Regions from separate parts of the Homo sapiens genome. Here region 1 is linked to region 2. Evidence: promoter capture Hi-C in human tissues and cell types (Jung and others, 2019). All regions are on one chromosome and are shown on one strand. Each heading gives the region's core, a stretch centred on a gene start or on the middle of the fragment in contact. The rest is flanking DNA. Distances are from core to core; before and after follow the strand shown.

The links. The method cuts DNA at HindIII sites, captures the fragments that hold promoters and counts their contacts. A contact is called where the count stands out against the background at its distance.
Region 1: a contact is called between a fragment that was not itself captured here and the fragment with the promoter of ROBO1 in region 2, in 2 of the 25 tissues and cell types used here (dorsolateral prefrontal cortex and mesendoderm cells).

The regions. Positions count from the first base shown.
Region 1 is chr3:79,836,262-79,843,391 of GRCh38, forward strand. No RefSeq gene overlaps it. Among named protein-coding and RNA genes, the nearest start is that of ROBO1, 72 kb to the left of the region's middle. The HindIII fragment of the contact is 5,213 bases long and covers 1,876-7,088 here.
Region 2 is chr3:79,763,387-79,770,465 of GRCh38, forward strand. It overlaps ROBO1 (roundabout guidance receptor 1), which reads right to left and starts at 4,612. Exons shown (of 31, transcript NM_002941.4): 1 at 4,366-4,612. The HindIII fragment of the contact is 15,501 bases long and covers 1-7,079 here.

The sequences.
Region 1 (7,130 bases), core at 3,232-5,731, 73 kb after region 2:
GAAAACCCGTCACTACTAAAAATACAAAAATTAGTGGGGCGTGGTAGCACAGGCTTGTAATCCCAGCTACTTGGGTGGCTGAAGCACAACAATTGCTTGAACCCAGGAGGCAGAGGTTGCAGTGAGCTGAGATCATACCACTGCACTCCAGCCTGGGCAACAAAGCAAGACTCTGTCTCAAAAAAACAGCAATAACAACAACAACATGTTCTTCTCACAAGTATGGACACATAGACCAGTGGAATAGAATAGAAAATCAAGAAATCGAGTAACACACATATGGGAATTCAGCATATAAAACAAGTGGCATTTTAATAACTAGGGCAAAAATGAACATTTTAATAAATGGTGCTTAAATAACCAAATAGCCATTTGGAACAATATGAAATTAGATACACATCCAAACCCTGAGAACAAACTTCAAAATAGTGAGATCTAAATGTAAAGAATTACACCATGGAAATAGTAGAAGAAAAATGAATTACTCTATAACACATGTGTTGGAAAGTTTTTCTATGTATGATTTAAAATACATTGAAAGTAATAGTTGATATTTTAATCATTTAATTATAATATTAATAATGATAATAATAATAATAATAAATTTTGCATGGCAAAAAAGTGTTATAAGCAAAGGCCAAAGCGTAAAAAAGACCAACCAGGAGAAAATATAACATATCACTACAGATAAAAGGCTAATACTCCTAACATATTAGGTACTCTTAAAATTTGAAGGAAAAAAATCCCAAAACAAACAGACAAAAACTATAAGCAGAACATTTATCAAAATATATGAAAATGGCTTCTGAATATAAGAAAATATATAATAATGATTATAGGATATGGATGGGAATAGGATGGACAGAATGGGATAGTGATAAATGACTAAGTACATCCTTTTATGAAGTTTTGACTTTGGTGGTATGTTAATATTTTCACTGCTCAATAAATGAAACCAAAAACTATGTGTTTAAAAAATAAAATTGTTTACAAACAGAATAGCTTTATTTTCAATGAAACATCACCACACTGATAATGAGAAAACAGAACTAATCTTAGTAAATTATGCAGGCTTTTAAAAAGCTTGCAGTGGGAATCGTTAATAATTCTCACAGTATTTTCTATATATTCTGTAATTGAGTACATAAGTAAAATATATTGAACATAATGGAAGCTAGGCTCTCCCTGTTGAGGAAGATTTACACAGCAAAGACTAAAATGTCCAACAATGATAGACTGGATTAAGAAAATGTGGCACATATACACCATGGAATACTATGCAGCCATAAAAAATGATGAGTTCATGTCCTTTGTAGGGACATGGATGAAATTGGAAATCATCATTCTCAGTAAACTATCGCAAGAACAAAAAACCAAACATCGCATATTCTCACTCTTAGGTGGGAATTGAACAATGAGAACACATGGACACAGGAAGGGGAACATCACACTCTGGGGACTGTTGTGGGTTGGGGGGAGGGGGGAGGGATAGCATTGGGAGATGTACCTAATGCTAGATGACGAGTTAGTGGGTGCAGTGCACCAGCATGGCACATGTATACATATGTAACTAACCTGCACATTGTGCACATGTACCCTAAAACTTAAAGTATAATAATAATAAATAAAAAATAAAAATTAAAAAAAAAACTTAAAAAAAAAGACTAAAATGAATCCTGTGCTTTTGGATTGCTGTGCGCTTTACCAGGATGAGCTTTTGAACTCATAGTACATATTTAGCTATATGTCATCTATATCTGCATCTGCCTAATACCAATATGTGTGTGTGTGTGTGTGTGTCCATGTGAATAATTTCCTAGCTATGTCCACTACAAGAGCTTCAAAGCAGGGGCACACCAATAGTGATGAACACACCTGATGTTCACTTAAGGCAATGAGGACTTCTTGGAGAAATGACTGTTTCCAGCACTAAGGAAGAAGAAAGACAAGATGAGCCTGATATGATATGCCAACAATTATGCCAGAAAGTAAAAGTGCTGGAAACCTGTCAAAGAACATGGTAATTAGCTTGAATGGGCTCTACTACGCTTTGAATGTGTCCCCCAAATTTCATATGTTGGAAATACAATCCTCAATGTGGCAGTATTGAAAGGTGGACCTTTAAAAGGTGATTGGATTAATCCATCCATGGATTAATGGATTAAGGAATTTTGGGGTTAATGGATTGATGGATATCATGGGAGGAGAATGGGTGGCTTTGTCAGAAGAGAAAGAGAGACCTGAACACAGTAGCCTGCTCAGCCATCCCACCATGTGATGCTTGTGCTGCCGCAGGACTCTTCAGAGAGCCCCTATCAGCAAGAAGCCTCTCACCAGATGCAGCCCTCAACTTTGGACTTCTTGGCATCCATAACTGAGAAGTAAATTCATTTTCTGTATAAATTATGCAGTTTCAGGTATTCTGTTATAGAAAATACAAAAGGAACTGATGCAGTCTCTCACTAGCCAAATATAGATCAATTTGAACAATTAAACAATGAAAATACAAAATGAACTGATATAGTCTCTCACTAGCCAACTGTAGATCAATTTGAACAATTAAATAATGATAGTAACAGGTTATTACCCACTGAATAAAATAATAATCTATTAGTTAATACTGATGTAAGTACAGAAATGAATAAATAAATAGAGGCATGAAGAAAGCTTTACGTTAGAGTAACATGACAATTAATAAACTTAAGTAGAATTATGGAGTTAGAAAATCACCTTTTATTATCATTATAGAAATTGATTCTGGCAAGAGTTAGCAACAGATGCAATACTAATGGGTGAGAATATGATGAGAGAGGAGATATTGTCATAGTCTGAAAGCCTCCCCACAAATTATTTATTAATTACAAAGAGGAAACAGACATCTTAGAGTAGAGAAGTTTGGCAGACACTATCATATGTAATTGATTAAAGTTAACATTATCAATACTGGTACAAGCCAAAAGTACTTACCTCCTGATTTGATGTATGGAGGAAAATACAACATTACTTCTGTGGTGTTTCTTCTGAGATGCATAATCTGAATCTAATCATGGTGAAACAGAAGAAAAAAACAAATTGAAGTGCCTTCTAAAATCTAACCGTACTTTTAAAAAAAGTTAATAACGTAAAAGACAATAAAAATCTGATGATACAGGTGAAAATAGACAAAAGAGACATGTATCTTAAATGTGATATTACTCTGGATTGTATTTGGGAGTAGAAACAAATATTTATCAAAGACAATTTAAAAATTTAAACTGAAAATTTGAGTTATATAATAGCATTGTATCAAGGTTAAATTTTCTGTTTGTTAATAAACTTCAGTAAGACAATGTAATGCCCTTGTTTAAACTAAGTGCATGCTAAGTTAATTAGATTTAAATCATCATAATATCTACTAGTTATTCTAAAATAATTGAGAAGGTAGAAAAAATATATAGACCATTGTATTAGTCTGTTTTCACACTACTATAAAGAACTGCCAGGGATTTGGTAATTTATAAAGGAAAAAAGTTTAATTGGCTCACAATTCCTCATGACTGGGGAGGCCTCAGAAAAATTACAATCATGGCAGAAGGCATCTATTCACAGGGTGGCAGGAGAGAGAATGAGAGTCGAGCAAAGGGAGAAAAGCCCTTATAAAATCATCAGATCTTGTGAGACCTAATTCACTATCATGAGAACAGGGTGGGGAAAACCGCCCCCATGATTAAATTATCTCCACCTGGTCCTTCCCACGACAGATGTGGATTGTGGGAACTATAATTCAAAATGAGATTTGGGTGGGGACACAGCCAAACCATATCAACCATTGATGAGGGGATGAGAGAGAGAGAGACAGAGAGAGAGAGAGAACAAATCTAAATAAATAAAAAATATTAGTATCTGGTGAATCCTAATAAAGGATATATCATAGCTCTTTGTACTAGTAGCCTTGAAAATTTTCTGTAAATTAAACATTATATAAAAATAAAAGGTATACAAACTGTGAGCATAAATATCATGGATAAAAATAAAAACAGTGACTCAAAATATAGGTATATGTATGAATACATACATAATTTTTCACTTAGTTTCTTTGGAAACTTTGGAAGCTTTGGGACTTTTACATTTCATACCTTATTTATAAATGGAAGTAAATGATTGTTTGTGAGAAAAAGAGCATTTTTCTTATGTAAGAGATGAGTAACCTGAGGCTTATGGATATTTTGAACTAAGTTTAAATTCACACTAACTAGTCATACAATTTAATAGCAAATATTCCAATTCCAAATTAATTTTTAATAGTTCTATGAGGTCATCATTTGGGTGGGAAATTTTAAGTGAAATTTTCCTTTTCCCTATCTTATCCCTGTCAGAGTCAAGGTCCAGTTAAACAAGTTTTCTTTTGTGACAAAGTGGATCAAAAAATAATAATTGTTCATATCAAATTTGGAGTATTTTGTTTTACTCAGGAGTTCTCTGATATAAAGTTTTTTGTTTCCTGGCTTTTTCGCATTCCCCAAAAATGGCCCATTAAAATCTGAAGCTTGGCTTGCTGGAAATTGACAGCTGCCTGCTTGAGCACTCGTACCCCTGGATTTGGGTTTTCTTATTTGTTTAGGTCTCTGAGACTTTCCCTGCCTGCTTGCCAGCAAGCCAATTTTGAATGGTTGCTTTGAATTGTTTTATCCAGCATTTTTAGAGGTTTGGCAATAGAGGGGTTTCAGAAACATTAACTGACATTTCACCTTGAAATGGAAGGTTCTATTTGTTGTTGTTGTTGTTTACCCTCTTGGATAGTAAGATTGGGACATGGAAGTAAGAGTCACACATTGGTGGCTGGTAGTGTCTCACTTTATCTGAAATTTTGGTACATTTATTAAAATAACAAACAGAAAACTAATAAATAATTTTTCAAAATTTTAGTTAGCCACCGTCAAATCTTATTACATTGATTGTAACTATAAGCAAATGTGCTATTACTTTTTTCATTTAATTGTGTTAGAATATTTTAGGTTCTGCCTTATAAATGCATTATTATAATTAACAACCTACATGGACATTGTCTGAGTAGATTAAAACTTATAATAGGTAAGGAGATCTTATAAAGCTTATTATGCCTTGACAAAAGGCATAATAAGCTAATACAAAAATGGTTGATGCTTATAAAATAGATTTTTCCAGAAAATTAAATACAAACACTCAATAAATATATGTAAAGCTATGGTCAATTTCATTATAAATCATGTTCTTTTACTGTAAAAAACAAAAGGCCGACTGCACCCTATTTCTACCAGAGCTTAAAGAAAACAATACTTTGACATATTGCTGGTGCTACTGGATAGCTACTGATATGGTTTGGCTCTGTGTCTCCACCCAAATCTCATATTGAATTGTAATTGTAATCCTCATGTGTTGAAGGAGGGATCTGGTGGGAGGTAATTGGATCATTGGAGCGGTTTCCCCCATGCTTTTCTCATGATAGTGACTGAGTTCTCAGGAGAGCTGATGGTTGTAAAGTTTGTGGCAGTTCCTCTTCCTCCTTCTTCCTCTTCCTCTTTCTCTTCCTCCTCCTCCTCTTCTCCTTCTCCTTCTTCTTCTTCTTCTTCTTCTTCTTCCTCTCTCTCTCTCTCTCTCTCTCCTGCTGCCATGTAAGATGTGCCTTGCTTCCCCTTCGCCTTCTGCCATGATTGAAAGTTTCCTGGAGGCCTCACTAGTTATGCAGAACTGTGAGTCAATTAAATCTCTTTTATTTATAAATTATCCAATCCCATGTATTCTTTATAGCAGTCTGAAAATGGACTAATACAACAACTCTCTGGAAAACAATTTGTCATTATTCGTATAGTCTTCAATAAAGCAAATTCATTCTTCTAAGGAAATCAACCTGTCTTAGAAAAATATCCACCAGTAGCAGAGAATATAGACACAAGAATGTTTAATGCAGCATTCTTTTTATTGGCAACAATCTACAAAAATGGGAATGTCCAAAGCATGTGAAAAGTTGAAAAAATCATGGCATAGCTGCAAATTGATATATTATGCAGTCAGTAAAAATAATAATTTTGGAATCTATTAACATGAAGATATATCCATAAAATATTAAGTAGAGAAAGCTAGTTGCAATAGAATGTGTACAAATATGCTCCCATTTTAAGGAGAAAATGTAAAGATTTTTTTATGTGGAATCGTATACATTAATACAATATTCACACACATCTATTCATGGTATGTATATATGATTTGTAAAGGTATATCTATATATTTGTGTAAAATAATGTAGGCTTAGAGAAAAATATGGGAACACATACCTAAGAACTCTTTTAAAAAGTAATATGGGCTGAAAAGAAGGGTGAGGTAAGGTGAAAAGAAGGCAAGCAAAAACGCAGAAAAGAAATTCTGTATTCTTCAAAAAGTAGAGTTACGTGTGCATTTATATAACAAATATGTAGGTAAAACATACTTAGAGTACCCCAGATAGGCATTATATTAAACACTATTTTAAATCATCCTAAAATTATCAATGCTATGTTTAAAATGCATTTCCTTTGAAATGTTATTGCAATTTCTCCAGAGTATTAGCTATAGAATCTTAGAGGTGGAGTAGACCTTTGCCTACAAGTACATTTATTTGATGCTCTGCAATTTTAAAGTGCAAATGGTTATTTTTTTAAAAGCATGTGTCTAGATGAGCTCTTTAATAACTTTGAAAGATGTAATAAATTTCAAGCAACTATACATCCTTAAAGGGCAAATTAAAAACACCCTAGAATTAAATTTAATTTCGACATTATCAGAAATAATAGGAGCATAAATGAATTTATCCTGTGTATTGGCAACTCAATACACAGGCAACCCGATACACAGAAACTCAATAGCCTGAATTATTGCAAGTTTATAATATCACCAATAATACCAGATAGGTACTTGGCCAAATAGATCTAATACCAGCCCTGACCTTGGGAAAAGTGGCATGTATGCTTTATACCATAGCATTTTAAATTGGCAATAACTAATGGGGTTGGCAGTGATAACCATCAAATACAAAACATAAGTAATTTCTGAATCAATGTAGAGAGGATACATCAGTATGGGAAATGAGCCAAGATAAAGGTTATAGTAAGTGTGTTTTTTAAAATGATGAATAGGAC
Region 2 (7,079 bases), core at 3,362-5,861:
ATTAGACAGCAGATGTTATTGGAAATTACTTGGAATTTCAGAGGTAAGGAACAGCAATAGGGTTGGAATAATAAGAAAAATTTTATGGTGGAGAAGGAACATGAACCACCCTAGACAAATGGATAGGGTTTGGCCAAATGAAGAAGATAATTTTGCAGATTAGAGAAGACACGTGTGCAGAAATGGAAAGGCAGAAAAGAACAACTGGCTGAAACTGACGTACTGGATCCTTAGCAGGCATCCTGGCTACATATGCACAAATTTCAAAGAAAATGGAAAGCCCCTCAGTTTTCCCCAAGTGCTCTGACCCCCAGAGATGATACAGGCAGGGTGGCAGATAGGGGTGGGGTATATTTTCTGAAAAAGTTATTTACTGTTTATGAGATCCTTGGAAAGTAACTGTAAAAGTTTGCTCTTGGAGAAATGCAGATAATGCTTTGGACATGAAAAAGATATCAAGGAGATTAAAAAATTATGAGTACTAAAATAAAATTCAAGGAATAATCAAACTCCTTGTTTAAATATGGGGGAAAATAGGTAGGTCCAGTTAACTGAAGAGAATGGCTCCCTTAAAAGCAGCAGTATGACATACTAGAAAAGCATGTACTCTGTCATGAGAAAGAACTTGTTTTTAATCCTGGCTCTGCCCCTTTTTGGCTGAATAGTCATGTCTATTTTCCTTAAACTCTCTGAGCTTCATTCTCTTCATGTGTTGTAGACATCTAATAAAGCCTACTTTGAAAGGGTTATGTGGGGATTAAGTGAAATATCTATTGCAGGTACGGTGACTAACACTGTTTCTACAGTTTTATCCTATGTAGTTTTGAATTAGTCAGTTAGCCTTCTAGGACCTCAATTTCCTATAGAATTAGGAGAATTGGCACTAATATATTTTAGGTACAAATATGAATACATTAACAGTAACATTGCTCACTTCAACAGCAAGTTTAGAGAGATAAATGATTATGTGACCAGGTCATAATCTAGCCTATTGTATGCTATCATGTTTTTGTCTGTGGTCTCAGAAAGAGGAAAATCAGTTGAGTTTAGGTGGCAAGAAGGAGCTCATTCTCCAGCAGATTGGTGGAAGCTCACCTCAAGATACATTTCAAATGGTGCATTGCACCTGCTCATTCATCAAGCTGCCAGGGGCTTACTTTACTGCCTTGCTTTTTTTCATTTAAAATTCACATCTTTGTGGTGTCTAGAGTTTCTCAGCTTTGTAATGAAAGTAATACATTAAATCTTGCTTAAATAAAAGTAGTTCCTAATGTATTAAGTATAGATGAAGGCCAAAAAGTGAGATTTTATAGCTAAGCACAACACTACTTTCCAAATAGTGCACACAAGTGTATAGCTTCCTTTTCATCTCTGGTCAATGTTATTTTGTATTTGAATTGATTCTACTATGTTATAAGATAAAAGAAAATTATACAGAACAATGCAGTTCTCTTTGGGGAGATATTAGGGTATTTGTTCTTTATTTTGTGCAGTATAGGGTAAGAGAAAGTTGGCATTAAACCTTTGGGACTCCCTAGGCAGCTGTTGAGTCTCTCCCCTCCTCCCATGCTCAGCTCAGTGCTATATCACTGGAAATCACTAACCTTCATAGAGTAGAGCCCAGAAGATGGTAACACTGGTTCAAGGACAGGCTAAGGGAAGCGAAGGGAAGTAAAAGGAAGTAAATAGGAAAATACAACAAACATGTGATTAACAGCTGTTTTCTGAAGCAAGGCTCCACCAGGGATCTGCAGCTGTGTCATTGTGCTTCAATTCTGCAGCTCCTACAGGGCTAAATTGGAAGAGGCATGGAGCAGGAAGATATGTGCGAAAAGGCTAAAGGAAGTCCAAAAACCGTGGCAACAATATAAGGTGAATGCCCCCACTCCTTAGATATCCTAATTTTTATCCCTCATGGGAGAGGTATAGGTCCATAAGAAACAAAGTCATCTTACCAACTGGATATCTGCTCCGAGCTGCTGCTGCTTCCTCTTCCTTTTTTTGGGGGGTGGGGGCCGATTTTGGAAGGGCAAATATTGATGGAACATCTACCAACACTGCCTCTTCCCTTTAACAAAATCAACATGATGCATGCTTACAGATTGCCTTTGAAAGTTACCAGTGCCTCCTCAAGATATAGTAGAGAAGCAGGTTTTAAGGTGTCAGACTGAGGCTTTCAAAATAATAGCTGCTAGGAGAATACAAGTTTGGGCCTGAAAACCCAGTTATGAGGCTTCCAAATAAATCAGTGGATTTTCAACTTTTTTTTGTAATTATTATATCCTAGTTCCCAAACAACCACAGTAAAGGAGGCACATGGAAAGCGAGGAAAAAATGAAATGGCATTGTCTTCCCCCAGGTGCTCAATCAGTATATTTCCTTTGATGTGTAGCCTTCAAGTAACTGACAACCCCAAGTGGCCCATTCTATAGGGTCCTGCATCTACGCTCCTTCCTCTGTGCGCTCAGCCCGGGTTGACAAGCAACCTCCAAATTAAACAACCTCCCACCACTACTTGGAAACAGACAACCATCTCTTAACAGGCCTCTGTAACACACAGCTTGATGAAAATCACTTACACAGGGCAGATGACACAGAGGAGTTTACAAGGTCGGGGCACTCCTTGGCGGGGCGTGAAAGGGTGGGAGGTGCTGAGGTCAGGGTTAAACTACCCTGTGAAATGAGCCTCCTGCCCTGCCCTTTCCTCCCTTCATCTATAGAAGGAGCCTCCAGTGAGTTCCTGCGTCTGGAAATCTGCCCCCTTTAGTGCCGCAGACAGGCCAGGGACAGCATTTCAAAGCTCCTCTAAATCAATCCACTTAAAAGAGCCCAGAAAAGCCTGACCATTGACCATAATTGCCCTAAATTGCTTGTTTTCCTTCCCCTCTTGCAGCCTCATCAACATTTCCCTTCTTTCCCCCTTCGTGTCCTTTTTTCTTGGGGGCGCAGGTCCTCTAGATGCTTGGGGTGCACACTAAGGATATTTGAGTAGTGGGAGCTCCGACTCGAGGCAGGAGTGGGATGTCTTAGCATTCCGTCTCCCCCACCCCACCCATCTGCGTGGGACACAGTGACTCCTAGAAGGGTATCCCAGGATTTTAGCGGCCAGGTGTGAGCGCCCTCCACGCGGTCCTCCGAGACCTCAGGGCGCGTGGCAACTGGGCAGAAGCCGTCTCTGCAGCGCCGCTGCCCCGGGTGGAGCGGCAGCCCAGGCTGCAGCAGTGGGGTTGCCACGCCGAGTTTTCCGCATCGGCCGCCCGCAGGGCTCGCCTGCTTCTCCCCATTGTGTTCTCAGAGCTGTGGGACCCAGCCGCGCGCGCAGCCGCACCCGCGCCAACGCTGGAACCGAAGGCTCATGGAAGCGGGGCTGGCAAGATGGGGCAGGGAGAAGGAGCAAGAAGGGGCCCCAGAAGGGCACGGCGTTTCATCAATAATGCAGAGGCTCCTGGACCTCCCTGCAATACGTTTTCCAGCTAAACGCCACCAACTGGAGCGCTTCCTGGTTCGTCCCACTCGTGTGGTTTTTGTGTGTGAAAGATGGGACGCACCTTTTTCATTCATCTGTCTTCTCTCATTCTTCCTCCTTCCCTCCCTCATTTCCTCCCTCAAAGTCCCCGCTGGCTTAGCTTTAAGCTCTCGTCTTCACATCAGCACCATGTTTTCAAGCAAAATCCTGCAGGTTGGAAATGCAAGTGTCAAAAGTCCCCACTGCCTACATACCGCCAAGAGTTTACCAAAATCCACCTAGTAACGCTTATTTTCAAAGCCCCCACGCGCATCCATTCCTGGAGAATGCTTTCAAAGTTTGGAAGCTCCCTGCAGCCTGCCCGTGTCTATGCCTCAGTCAGCTCACATCACGAACAACGGTGCGGTCAGCGGCACTGAGATTAGGCTGCAAAGTTGCCCGGCCCCAGCCCACTACACCGCTGATGCTCGCCGCATCCCTAGAGCAAATTCCGCTGTGTGCCCCCAAGAAGCCAAAAGCGGCACGAAACCTACTCCAACAAGGGTTAGCCCAGCCACACACACAACAAACAAATTCCAAAACTTCTTTGTTAAGCAGCCGCAGCCTACCTGGAACGGACACTCTGCACAACTGGCAAGGAAGAAACAAACATCGCATCCCTGCAGGAAAACTTGTTGAATCCCTCCCGATCGCAAGGCTGCAATTTCCGATTTAGCCTGAAGGTTTTTGATTCTACCCCAAAACACCCTGGCGCATCAGCCACAATTTCTGGATAAACTGCAGAGTCCTCTCGGCAACCATTCTGCACTCCAACAACCACTAGTGTAAAACCCAGCGTGTCCCCTTTTACAAATCAAAAGCCAGCTGTCACTTCCCTTGCAACCATTTCCGAGACTTACCCTTCCATAAGACTGTTTTCAGCAATCTAGAGGCTCCGTAGTGCAGACGCAGCCCTGCAACTTTGCTGTGCACTGAGACCTTTCCGAGTTTAAACCAAGCGAAAGGTGACAGACTTTTAAACCTAAGAGTGGGGAAATAGGGAGAGAGTGAAGTCGGGTTTCTTCTCTGTATCAGCACCCTGGAAAAATTCAATCCTTCTTCAGTAGAGAATTCTTTCAAACCCGTTATCTGTATTACTATTAATGCGCAGAGCAGAAGGCATTGCATACAAATAGGTCCAAGTGTGCGCTTCTATTGGTGGCTGCGGAGGCCCCTGGGTCCTACTGCTCCGGTCTAAACTACACAGCAACACTAGGCACGCAGCTTTGGAGACGCCGAGGGGAAAATGGATTTAATTGATTCGTTACCTCTGGTATTGTAATGCCTGCTGCGATGTTTAACCGAGGGGGGAGGAAAAAAAAAAAAAAAAACCCTTACATTTAACTCCTGTCATGTGATCTATCATTCCATAGCTGCTTTTAATTGTCTGTGTGGAGTGGCTTTGATCATACAAAGGATTTTAAAAGAACATTTTCGAAGGAAAATTCACACAGACACTTTTGGCAGGAAAACCCTCTTTTGCTCTCTATTATGCATTATTCTCATATAAATCCAGGAAATTTTATATAATCAAATACTTCTGCACTTCACGTAGGTACACACAACACCCAATTGTATTTACAATTCATAGCTACTACAAATAAAATACCTTACATGGGTAGTAGATAGTAGAAGCTAAAATATGAGTCTACCAATTATAAAACACGGGTTATATTAGTCAAATGCTACAGAAAAAATTCCATCAATGACAATGGCGTCAGCATCATTTTTACTTCGCAAAATTAGAAATTCAAAAATATTTTCCTTGTAAATATTGACATAAAGATATAAATCAACATAAAGGTATTATAATGTCACAGTATGTCAAGCATTTACTATTAATTGCTACATTATCTTTTTACAGTTTCTCTCTTAGCAAGTTCATTAGTAATGCAAATTGGCATAACAAGGAGATTTAAAGTGAGGCCGACCTGTGGTGACTAGCAATTTGAAATATTGTAATAGTGTGCAAAATCACTTTAGTTCATCATCGGTAAAGCCAGTTATTTTAAGAATTAGAATATTAAATGCTGAATCTTAATATATATTAATTTGAAGTCTTAAACATGCTGTTTTCTTTGACCTTTAATTTTGTGGAGGAAAAGAGAAATCCTTATTTAAACTAAAATGACATAGACTTTCCACAAAATCCTAGATACGATATTTACTGATATTATAATTTAGGAAGTAACATAATTTTATTGTCTTTGATGTAAATAATTGTGATAAATTCCAATTTAATTACAAAATTATTACATATATGTAATGTACAACTGAATGAACATTGTTGGAAAGGGCCACTCTGGATAAGGTTAACATCAACCAACCTATAAATTCACTACCTATGTGTAAACTAAATAAATGAAAACACAATGCAAAAATACAACAGACTCGAGATCTTATTCCAAATACATGTAAAGCATTTGAATTTATGTAGTGTGTGCTACAATCCCTCTTCATTTCCGTAACTCTTTCCCTTTACAGCCCCTTCCCTTCCCCCAATCAGTAACCCTTGACAACAGAAGTGTTAACTTCAAGTCCAGGTTGCCTTTGCTGCCTTCCAGACCTAACTTACAGATTGCATCCTTGTAGGAAACAGAGTTAACTCTTACACGACTGAGAGGTGAAAGAAGAGAGTTTCTTTCAGGGATTAGAAAATCCAGTATTTTTATGTGTATTTGCAAAGTTTGCACCAAACACATATTTTTAAAAATATCCATGATCACTAATTCAGAGTGAAAAGATGTGATCATTGGCATTGTATCAGAGTCAATTTGCTGTATATATCCATTGCTATTGTGTCACTGAAATAGCTTTTGAATAACTTTTATTCAGGGTTACTTCAATCACTTTACTTCAGGTTAATAATTTCTCCATTTACAATAGAGTTAAAATGAAAATACCAAAGTGTTGCAATATTCAGTATAAGGGTATAAAGGACTTTTTTTTAATCTGTAAAAGAAAAGAAAAGCTATTATTTCATATAGTAAGAAAAGCATAATGACCATGCAAAGTTGAATAAAGATGACTGACATTCATCTTATTTCTAAAACAAGTAAATTATTGGTGTTTCAACTTCTTTCTACAAGGGGATCTGAAAAAAATCATTTGCAACCCAACTACAAGTTGAAAGTTCTGCATTTAATGTGTATCATTTTAGAACTGAGAAAAGATGTGTTTTACACAAGCTGACAGATTTTATACAAAATCAATGCAGCTTATCTATGACCATAATTAAATGGGGAAGTTTGATAGTGGACACATATAATAGTGAACAGAAGAAAATAAATAAACCAAAACTGACCTAATAACAAATTTATTATATAATCTCTTGATAAGTTTTTACTTTCTATATAAAAGACTGATGTAAAAATATAGCAAGCTAAACAGAAACTTAAGTTTAACTTACTATTTTTTTAAAAAAGTTTTCTACATCTCTTCAATAAATTACTTGTTTATCCAAATTATTACCATATGAGATGTATATATATATATATATATATATATATATATATATATATATAAAATAAATATATAGTTGTAAATGTTGCAAATATATTTTCCTTACTTCTTG